2 separate regions of the Homo sapiens genome follow, and region 1 is linked to region 2. The links are contacts of gene promoters, found by promoter capture Hi-C in blood cells and fetal thymus (Javierre and others, 2016). All regions are on one chromosome and are shown on one strand. The core of a region is centred on a gene start or on the middle of the fragment in contact, and the rest is flanking DNA. Distances in the headings are between cores, read along the strand shown. Region 1 has its middle 83 kb from the start of GUCY1A1. Region 2 holds the start of GUCY1B1 (guanylate cyclase 1 soluble subunit beta 1).

Region 1 (5,062 bases), core at 1,815-4,314, 170 kb before region 2:
CAGGAGTTTGGAACAAGTTGATTTCAGCCCTGATGCATGATTTTGAAGGGTTCAAGGCCAGTGGAGGAAATAACTGCAGATGTGGTGGAAATAACAAGAGAACTAGAAGTGGAACCAGAATCTCTGACTGAGTTATTGTAATCTTATGATAAAACTTGAACAGATGAGGAGTTGCTTCTTATGAATGAGCAAGAAAAGGAGTTTCTTGAGATACAATATAGTCCTGGTGAAGATGCTGTGAACACTGTTGAAATGACAATGTAAGATTTAGAATATTACATAAGCTTAATTGATACAGCATCAAGATTTGAAATAATTTACTCCAATTTTGAAATAAGTTCCACTATGGGTAAAATGTTATCTAGTAGCATCACATACTACAGAGAAATCTTTCATGAAACAAAGACTCAATCAATGAGGCAACTTCATTGTAGGTTTAAGAAATTGGCACATCCACCCCAGTCTTCAGCAACCACCACCCTGATCCATCAGCTGCCATCAACTTCAAAGCAAGACCTTTCACTAGGAAAAAGAAAACTCAGATGACTGTTAGCAGTTTTTAGCAATAAAGTATTTTTGGTTAAGATATGTCCATTTTTTTAAGATTTAATGCCATTGTGCACTGAATAGATTATAGTATAAATATAACTTATATGTGCACTGGCAAACAAAATTACTGCGATTTGCTTTATTGCAATATTAGCCTTATTGGAGTGGTCTAGAACTGAATCCACAATAGTACTGAAGTTGCCTGTAAGTATGCCATGAATTAATGAATGACCTAGACATTAATGAATAAAGCAACAATAAGAAATTCATTAAATTCACTCAAAAATCTTAAGTAACTATTGTTTAAAATATTGTCATGAAGGCAGGACAAAAGATACTATGAAAATGATAACTATTATTGTTATAAAATCTACAGGCCTCTTCCATGAACACATTATCCAGTCTCTCCCTCTTAATGCCCTAATTTTCTTTGTTAAAATATTTATTTTTCAATGTTATTTTAAACTTATTTATAATAAGCAAAATGTGAGAGTTTATCATTGTTTGTAGAAAGAAAGAAGTGCCTATAAACCATGCTTCTAACATTAACTCTTTGACCTTGTGAAAAGGGAATTCTCATGACTAATTAGTATGCACATCATCTGGAGGAGGCAAATAAAATTGTGCAGGCTGCTGTAGCAGATTGCTGTGCATAAAGGCCATTAGCTTCTAGGAAAGGATAGATTTTTCCAGTGTACCCAGGTAAAAAATATTTTTCAAACCTTGATAACTTCATCCTTTTATTCGACCTAGAGCCCATTTACCTCAAAAGTGTGTGAACCCCACCTCACAACCCCTCTCCGGAATTAATTGGGTATTCACAAGTGTTATTAAATTGATTGAATATATAGATCTTTTTCAAATGTCCTAGACAATTACATACTTTAATACCTTTGTTTTAATTTAAAATGAATTCTGTTTTTACTCATTTCCAGAGCAACCCAAGGTAACCAAAATAAATATAGGATAATAGTAATTGAATAAGAGAAAAATACATATCACTCCACTTATCTAGTGATAAACACCAGTATCACCATTGTGTAAATGTTTATAACTTCCTCCATTTTATCTGTTATGTTTGCATATTTTGCATTTCTTAATCAATTTTTAATTTTTAAAATTTTCATCTTTTTTTACTCTTATACAGATAAAATTATTTTATTTTTCATAACCATTTATGTTGACACATAACACACATACACGATACATATATTAGTTTATTTTATCAATCTTTATTTCTTGACATAGAACTTGTTTTCCACTTTTCATAATGTCACAAAATTCTCATCTAAATCCTGCACATATTTCTGACTAATCCCTCAGGATAAGAAACCAGAACTTAATAGCCAAGATTTTATACATTTTCAGGCATGTGATATCATTGCTAGGTTGTCCTCCAAAAGTGTTGTAATAGTATATGCTCCCCACCTACACTGTATGACATCATCACTTCCTGAAGCTAAACCAAGGAGATGTTATCATGTAACATGCAAAGGTTAACTGAGTTGGAATTATGTACTAATTATGATGAAAGATAATTTCTCAGAATTTCCTTAGAAAAATAGTCTTCTGTGCTTGGAAAAGGGGAAGACAGTGGCAGGAGTTTAACTTCTGACTTCGTTTGGAGGATGTTTGATTACAATGCTCTTGACTCAGAAACATAAATTGCCACAAAAGACCTTCTGTTGGCCATTAAACTGCAGAGCACAGGCAGGAAACTACGTAGCATGTCAGGCTTTTGTTTATTTAACACCGTCGGTGAGATGTACTTAGCAGTTATTATCTGCTCAGTGCTCTTCTAGGCATGAAAGCAAGGGGGAAAAATGTAGGTATGTTTCTTATTCTCAAGAATTTTATTAATTGAAGAGAAAAAATATATATGGCAGCCAAACAAGGAAATATTTGAAAAGTAACAATTGAGTTGCATGAATCAGTATAAGTTATAGTAGTCTGAGGAGAAGAGAAAACTTTGGCTTCCTTAATAAGCAATTTATGAGAAAAAATATGTAGTTTCAACACGAGATTGAAGAATGATGTAGAGGATTACAACAGGGAAAAAAGTAATACAATCTAAACAATCATAAAATGAAAGTGAGCATGGCACAACTAATTTTCACTAGATCCATTGGACAGGAATGGAAAGATTATATTGGCAAGTGTAGAAGATAATGTGGTAAGTTTTCTTAGGACAAGATAAAAACGTGCTGGATTCTAGGATAAGAAATAACTTATAAATTCAATTAAGTCAACTGAAAGTTTCTGTTTAGGGAAATAAAATGAAAAAGTCATGATTCATTTGTTCATGCAGGCATGCATAACTAATATATATTGAAAACTTGGCTGGGCTGAGGGCTCACGCTTGTAATCCCAGCACTTTGGGAGGCCAAGGCGGGGTGGATCACATGAGGTCAGAAGTTCGAGACCAGCCTGGCCAACATGGCAAAACATCGTCTCTACCAAAAATACAAAAATTAGCCGGGCGTGGTGGCATGGGTCTGTAGTCCCAGCTACCTCGGAGGCTGAGGCAGGAGAATCGCTTGAATCCGGGAGGCAGAGGTTGCAGTGAGCCGAGATCGCACCACTGCACTCCAGCTTAGGTAACAGAGGGAGACTCTGTCTCAAATAATGATAATGATAATGATAATGATAATGATAATGATAATGATAATGAAAATAAAAACCTACTATGAACTAACTAAACATTAGGACAAGAGAGTTATCTTCTTTTTTAAAGGTTTGTACTCAGAAAGCCCATGGTTTAGGCAAAATTATGCACTGAAATATTAACTTGTTGGTTTTTTGTGTATTTGTTTTTGCTGCTGAAAAATTAGAGATGAAAGCTCCTATGGGAAAGCTCCTTTTGCCTTGAAGCTCATTCTCTTAGTTCATTTGTGCTGCTAAACCAAAATACTTTGGATAATTTATAACAAAACAGAAATGAATCTTCTCACAGTTACAGAGACTGAGAAGTCCAAGAGGGAATTAGCAGATTCAGTGTCTGGCAAGGGCTCCTCTCCCTTACTGTATCCTCTCATGGTGGAAGGGGCTAAAAAGGGACAAGCACACTCCCTTTGACTACTTTTAGAAAGTACTCATCAATTCATGAGGGCAAAGCCCTCATTGTTAAATCACTTCCCCAAAAGCCCCACCTCTTCATACCATCACTTCAGGGTCTAAATTCCAACATATGAATTTTGGAGGAGCACATACATTGAGACCACAGCACTCACAATAGAAGAAAAAGTAATTTCTCCGTGGGGTAGGATTGGAGCCCCTTCTAGACTCTGTCTTTTGAAACCAGCCTGTCACATCCTCTACCCATTCATGTTCTGACCTTCTCTCAGGGGGCTCTGTCCCTTCTGAGGAGACCTGAAGTTGTCCAGTATGCTGGTTACTAAGTGGATGAATAGGTCTAATTGTCAAGATGTAAAGTATTTACTAGTGCATTTGGCCACACATCTAAAACCACCTCTCCAATCAGCTTTATCAGTAATACAGCTGGCCTAATGATCTCTCTCTTGGTAATCTCTGTCTACCTCTCAAATAATTCTGAAATAATGAGGAGAAGAAAGGAATTATTTGCCACTCTCACAAAAGAGCTAAATTTTATTGTGTAGATAACAGTTAAATGTACCTAAAAAACATTTTCTGTTTCTACCTACCTTTTATATTCTTAAAGCCTGAACTCTTGAGGATATTTTACAAGTAAGGACAAGAGAATCCACATGTACTTTGAATATGGGAAGGCTCAAACTTGGAGAGTAATGATGAGGTTCCTTATGTCTGGATGGAGACTAGGTCCATGGGACTTTTGGTATTGTAGATCTATGTCCAGCTCCCTTGCAGCACCCTGGTGGATTAGCAAAACCTGGAGGAATGACTGAGCGGTGCATCTCACAAGCCTCAACACTCAGCTCAGTGTTTCCAGCTTCACCAGCATCCAGTAGCCAGCGCTGGCTACAAAGATGCTGAGTTCCTAGATTTAAGTGGAATGACCACACATGTGAGTTTCCCTGCAACGGTCCAGATTTTTGTGTTATTCTGTCATAATTTTACTTGCACCCTATTATACTCTTCTAGTTTGGTTGATAAGTTATGCAATTGCCCTTAAAACTTTCAAGAGACAAGGTGGAGCTTTGCAATGAGGATTCAAATAGTGAACAGCGTAGGCAGCACCAAATGAATTAGAAGATATCCCTCAGTCACACCTCAAGTAAATGGAAGCACCTCAAATGAGACCTAAGAATGGCTTTTTTTCAGGCGATACAGTCAGATCTTGTTTTCCTTCACTGGTTTCTAAATCTTTGCCTTCCTAGTTTGCCATGCAGGTCATGCTTCAAATTCTTCCAAAATATCATGGACAGATTTCTCACCCTGACCTACAAGTTCAATAAAACCAGGGAATACCTAGGGATGTTTTATTCAATAAATCACATGCATCTCTTTTATCACACAATGTCTTCTACCACTATTCCCCTTGTTCACTTCCCTTTGGCCACATTGGCCTTCTCAA
Region 2 (4,959 bases), core at 482-2,981:
GTGACAAAGTAATCTGTACACCAAACCCCCAAGACATGTAATTGGCCTATATAACAAACCTGCATATGTGCCCCTGAAACTAAAATAAAAGTTAAAAAAAATTCAGTTATGTAACAGTAAAGAAAATTCATCTGTGTAGAAAAATAATCAAAAGATACAGAAAGTTATAAAAAGTAAGAGTCATGGCCATTCCAGCCACTGGTTCTAATTACAGACGATAGCCATATCAACACTTCCTGTGTTTCCTCCCAAACCATTATTCTTACAGCAACATGTATGTGCCTGTGTTATTACCCACATAGCACCTTACTGTATACTAACTCTAAAAAATGGAAAATGATTACATTCTTGTGGTGTTTTGTAAACCTGACAATACTTTTCTGCATCATCATTTTCTAGTCACCCTCCTGCTTTTTCATGGTTGTTTAATGTGCCATTTTAATGGTTCAAAATTAGTGGTTAATTGTTGTTAAATAATGATTAATGTTTTAATAGTTGTTTAAAACAAGGTGTTAGATTGTATGAAAGGCTGTAATCTATTTACTCATTCCACCAATAATGGAAATTTTTAAAGTAATTTGTTGTTTTGTTTGTTTGCTACATGCCACTATTTCTGTATCAGTTTCCTTCATCATAGCTCTCTCGGTGCTGATGTCAGCACAATCTTATTGTTTTGACATTTTTCTCTAACCATATTGAGACTGTTCTCACAACAAAATATGCACATCTTAAAATACCATCTGGCTTCTCAGGTCCACTTGAGACTGGTGACCTCACTTTTGACCTTGCCCTAAAAGTCAACTGGAGTCCATATACCTCAGGTACAAACAGCTTTAATAAGCTGCCACTTCCTGTTCCTCTCATCTTCTCTCTATGGCAGGACTCAGAGCATTAACTAACCTAAGGGCCTGGTAGAATGTAAGCTGGAGGTAGAGTAGTTAAAGTCTGTGCATTTTGTACTGGTCATTTTCCAGTTCGTCTGTTGCTAAGAAACAGCAACAGAGGCCCGCTCTAGAGGGTTACAAACTCCCTGGAATTATGGCTCCCGGACATGGTGTAGGGAAAGGTGTCCCACAGGGATCAAGCCTAGAATATCGCTGGATCTTGTACAGTTTAGTAAAGGGCAGGACTGGATTTAACATAACGTCCACCAAACTACATTACTGAAAATTTTTGGTGCTTCACTCAACTAGTCTCATTGACTAGAAGTGAAAATATGTTTTTCTCAATATTACCAGCTTTAAATTTGCCATAAACTGTTGTGGGACCAAGCCACAGAGGAAATGTTTTTCCGCTAGACAAAGATAAGCATGAGGATGCCAGCAACAGAGGATATTCCTTTTAAGGTCTGTCCATTGCAAAGTACACACGTACACGCTCACACAACAAACACGCCCTGTTCCCTTTTGCTTGTGTTAACCACTGAGGGCAGATCTCTGAATAATAATACATTTAGTGGGTCCACAAGAGCTGCATTTCCTCTGCTCCAGAATTCATGCAAGGAGCACGGCTGGGGCTTCTCCACTGTCATTGTTATGGCCTCAAATGAAGGCCTTGTCACCAGGCGGGGGCGGGAAGGCACTGGAGCGCAGCAGCATTGAGAGCATCCGAATTCCCTCCTCTGTCCCTGATTGGTTGAAGAACTGGGGAGCACCGACCAGCCCCCTGCGGCTCGACTCGCCATTGGCTGGGAAGAGGTGGCAATCAGGGCGGGCCAAGGCGGCTGTTCTCGCTCCAGCTCGATGCTGCCTCCCCGGCCCGGTTGCGCTGTAGCCGCTGCCGCCTCTGCCTGGGTCCCTTCGGCCGTACCTCTGCGTGGGGGCTGCCTCCCCGGCTCCCGGTGCAGACACCATGGTAAGTGCTCTCAGCCGGGTGCGGCCCGAACCTCACCCCTCCTCGGCCGGCCTGGCAGCGAGGGAACTGGCCGCGCAGCCGGAGCTTGGCTCGGGGGCCCTGGGCGCTCACTGCCGGCCACGGGAGCAGCCTCACTCCTTGCCCGCGCCCAGTCAGGGGAGGTGGGAACGCCGCGAGTCGTGGCGGGGGCGATCGGTGCCTTTGCTTCCCAGGCGGGTTTGCCGCTCCACACCGCAGCTTCCTGAGCTCGGGAAGGGGAGGTGCGGCGGAGGCGTGGGGTCTTCCCGGCTCTGGCCGGCCCCACCAGTGTGGGAGGCTGAGCGCCAGCGGAAGGGAAGGCTCCGGGTTCGCGTCCCCGCGCTGCCCCCGATGCCCAGCCTCTCCCGGAGCGGTGACAGGTGAGGAGGGTGGGAAGATAGCGTGGGGGTGGGGCGGATGGTGACGGGGAGAATCCACCAGGGATTGGGGGGTTGCGCCCCCACGATCCGACTCCTTTAGTGCATAGTACCCCTAAGGGAGAGGAGTCAGGGGCGGGGTGAAAGGTTAAGCCAGCGCCATGGGAGCAGAGGCAGCAGCCTCGCCCCCAAGCCGCTTCTCAGGTACAGCGGGTCCCTGACGCTCAAGTCTCTCCCTGTCCCCGCAGTACGGATTTGTGAATCACGCCCTGGAGTTGCTGGTGATCCGCAATTACGGCCCCGAGGTGTGGGAAGACATCAAGTAAGTGGCCGGCTACCCTGGCTGTGGCCCAGGTCGGCGCCCAGTGTGGGAGGCCCCCCGCGCCTCGCCTGGTCCTCAGCCTGCTGGCCGGGTCGCGGGCGCGCATCCTTGGAGGTGCCTCCGCGCCTCGCTCCCGGCTCGCTGCAGCTGCGCTCCCACGCTCCGGGACTGGAACCAGGAGGGGAGGGGCGGCTGGGGCGGGGCTGCGAGGGCGAGAACCGCGGAAAGGAGCCCCTAGGGGTCACCACGGCTTCCCGACCCGGCCTGAGCGTGGGAACGCGCTGCCGGCGCTCCCAGGCTCAGCAGGCCGGGCAGCTCCCACGCGTGCAGAGCCCCGAGGGACCACACGGGCCTCCGCGAGGTTCCTGCGCCCGGAGGCCTTAGAAACAAACGGAAGACTTTGGCTCCTTTATGATTTACACACCTGGCGTAAGTTAGGCCTTTTTGGTATGCTGAAACACGCGGGAGATTATTTCTTGAGCAACAGTGAATTAAGCGCATTTATTCATTTTTAAATAAAGTGAAAATTGGAAGTTTTTTGTTTTCCCCAAATCCCACTGCCCACCCCCCCCGCCCCAACCCCTATCCCCCGTTTTTTTCTACTGTGTTGAAGACTTAACAGTTCTAGGAGGCATTCTACTTTCAGTCCTGGAGCTTTGAGCCCAGTACTGGGGATGTGAACGGAAATACCACACCCACCTGAGAGTTTAAACCTGTTGGAATGACTGATGGGTCAGCATGTCTGCAGGCAGGTTGACTATTTCACTCTAATAAAGTTGTCTCTCCTTTTTCCTCTCACTCTCAAAAAATTTGCATTTAACTTATGGTACAGCTGACCACCACCAACTAGCTACTCCAAAACCCTATTTATGGATTTTCATATTAGAGCAACAGTCAGACTATCACATTGTAACAAAGGTGGAAGGAAGGGTTTCCTGGGTGGGCAGATGGGAATACACTGTTATTATTCACTCTGATTTCCTGTACTTAGTGATTTCATTTTGTTGTCTCAGGTAGGTGAGGCTTCCATGCTGTTTTTCCCTAAGCACATTACAATTATTAGCAATCAATTCTAACAGGCCTTATTATGCAGTTACATGATGGTGATTTCTCATAACGATCTGTTTCCATAGAAATGACCAGGGTTATATATTAAGCACGAAAATGTAACTTTTCTTTCCCCTGGATCTGTATCACTGAGCGTTTCTTTCATGTTTCAGAAACCATTTGTATTATCCACAGGGCATATTACCTACATATTATAAACAGAAGCCGAGATTTGGCAAGTATGTGGTTGAATCCAATGAGAACATAGGCACCAAAAGTTACTTTAGGATTTGAATTTTCTGGCCATCTTAATACCATTATAATTTTTATTTTGCTTAGTAGACAGATATCAACAAGGCAGACATCAAAAAAAGATTGTTAACAGTATAACTTAACTACCGAATTATTTTTAAGCCACTTCCTTTGTAAATTTATAAATGCTATATATATATATATTCTCCATATGATGCTTTTGCATCTGTAAGATAGAAATTCCCAAATTTGCTGGTAGATATGCTATGACAATGAATATGCTTAGAATTTTTAGAGCAGAATAAAAGATGGCTATTATGATTAAACAGTCATTATGTAATTTAACCAGATTTAGATTGTATATCCTAGCCATTATCAGTTTAGATCACTGTTAAATACAGAGATGAAAAATAATACTTTATAGAGTAATGTATCAGACATTTTAAAAAGTTAAAATTATCCAGAGATTTGTTTATATTGCTTATATTTTCCCAGAGGAAGTCCAAATATGTAAAGATTCAATTGACGAGAATTTAACTCTGCAAAATCAAGCTGAGAATATTGTTCCATTCTACTTTAAAAAATTATTTATTAACTTACTAATTTATCTTTAAGTAGCTTCCAACAGTATTCATAATTTGTCTAAAGGATAAAAATTCCAATCATCCACAACACAATTTTTCTGGTAAAAATGAAACAAGTTATATTGGTCTTTTCTTAAATAAAATTGCCTCAAGGTTATGCCCCTGCAAGGGAAAAAGTGTTAGTCACACTGGTGTTGGTAATCCAGGTGTTAGTGTTGATTCTTTATTTGTCTAAGCATCTTTTGGTGGACCCCAGCTGATCTTGGGTGTGGTTTAGTGTCTGGGCTAGAGAACATGGTTGAACTCTCTGCACTGAGGGCATTAAAGCTGCTCCTTGGTTTCCAACCCAATACCCCTGAGTAATTACTAAATGCTCCCTGGGAGAGCATTTGCTTTCCACAGAAAAGAATCTTGCTGCCTGGGGAGAGGGGAGGAGAACCTGGAGGAGTGTAATTGAAAAATGCTCCTTGGGTGATTCTGGTTCCTCCTCCCCTCCCTACCCTCT

What was found. The method cuts DNA at HindIII sites, captures the fragments that hold promoters and counts their contacts. A CHiCAGO score of 5 or more calls a contact.
Region 1: a contact is called between a fragment that was not itself captured here and the fragment with the promoter of GUCY1B1 in region 2, in 1 of 17 cell types (M2 macrophages). The highest score is 5.8, in M2 macrophages.

What each region holds. Positions count from the first base shown.
Region 1 is chr4:155,581,091-155,586,152 of GRCh38, forward strand. No RefSeq gene overlaps it. Among named protein-coding and RNA genes, the nearest start is that of GUCY1A1, 83 kb to the right of the region's middle. The HindIII fragment of the contact is 5,564 bases long and covers 283-5,062 here.
Region 2 is chr4:155,757,290-155,762,248 of GRCh38, forward strand. It overlaps GUCY1B1 (guanylate cyclase 1 soluble subunit beta 1), which reads left to right and starts at 1,732. Exons shown (of 14, transcript NM_000857.5): 1 at 1,732-1,854; 2 at 2,498-2,571. The coding sequence starts at 1,852. It overlaps LOC105377506 (a long non-coding RNA gene), which reads right to left and starts at 1,126. Exons shown (of 8, transcript XR_007058484.1): 1 at 901-1,126. RefSeq lists silencers at 1,910-2,059, 2,510-2,779. The HindIII fragment of the contact is 7,462 bases long and covers 1-4,959 here.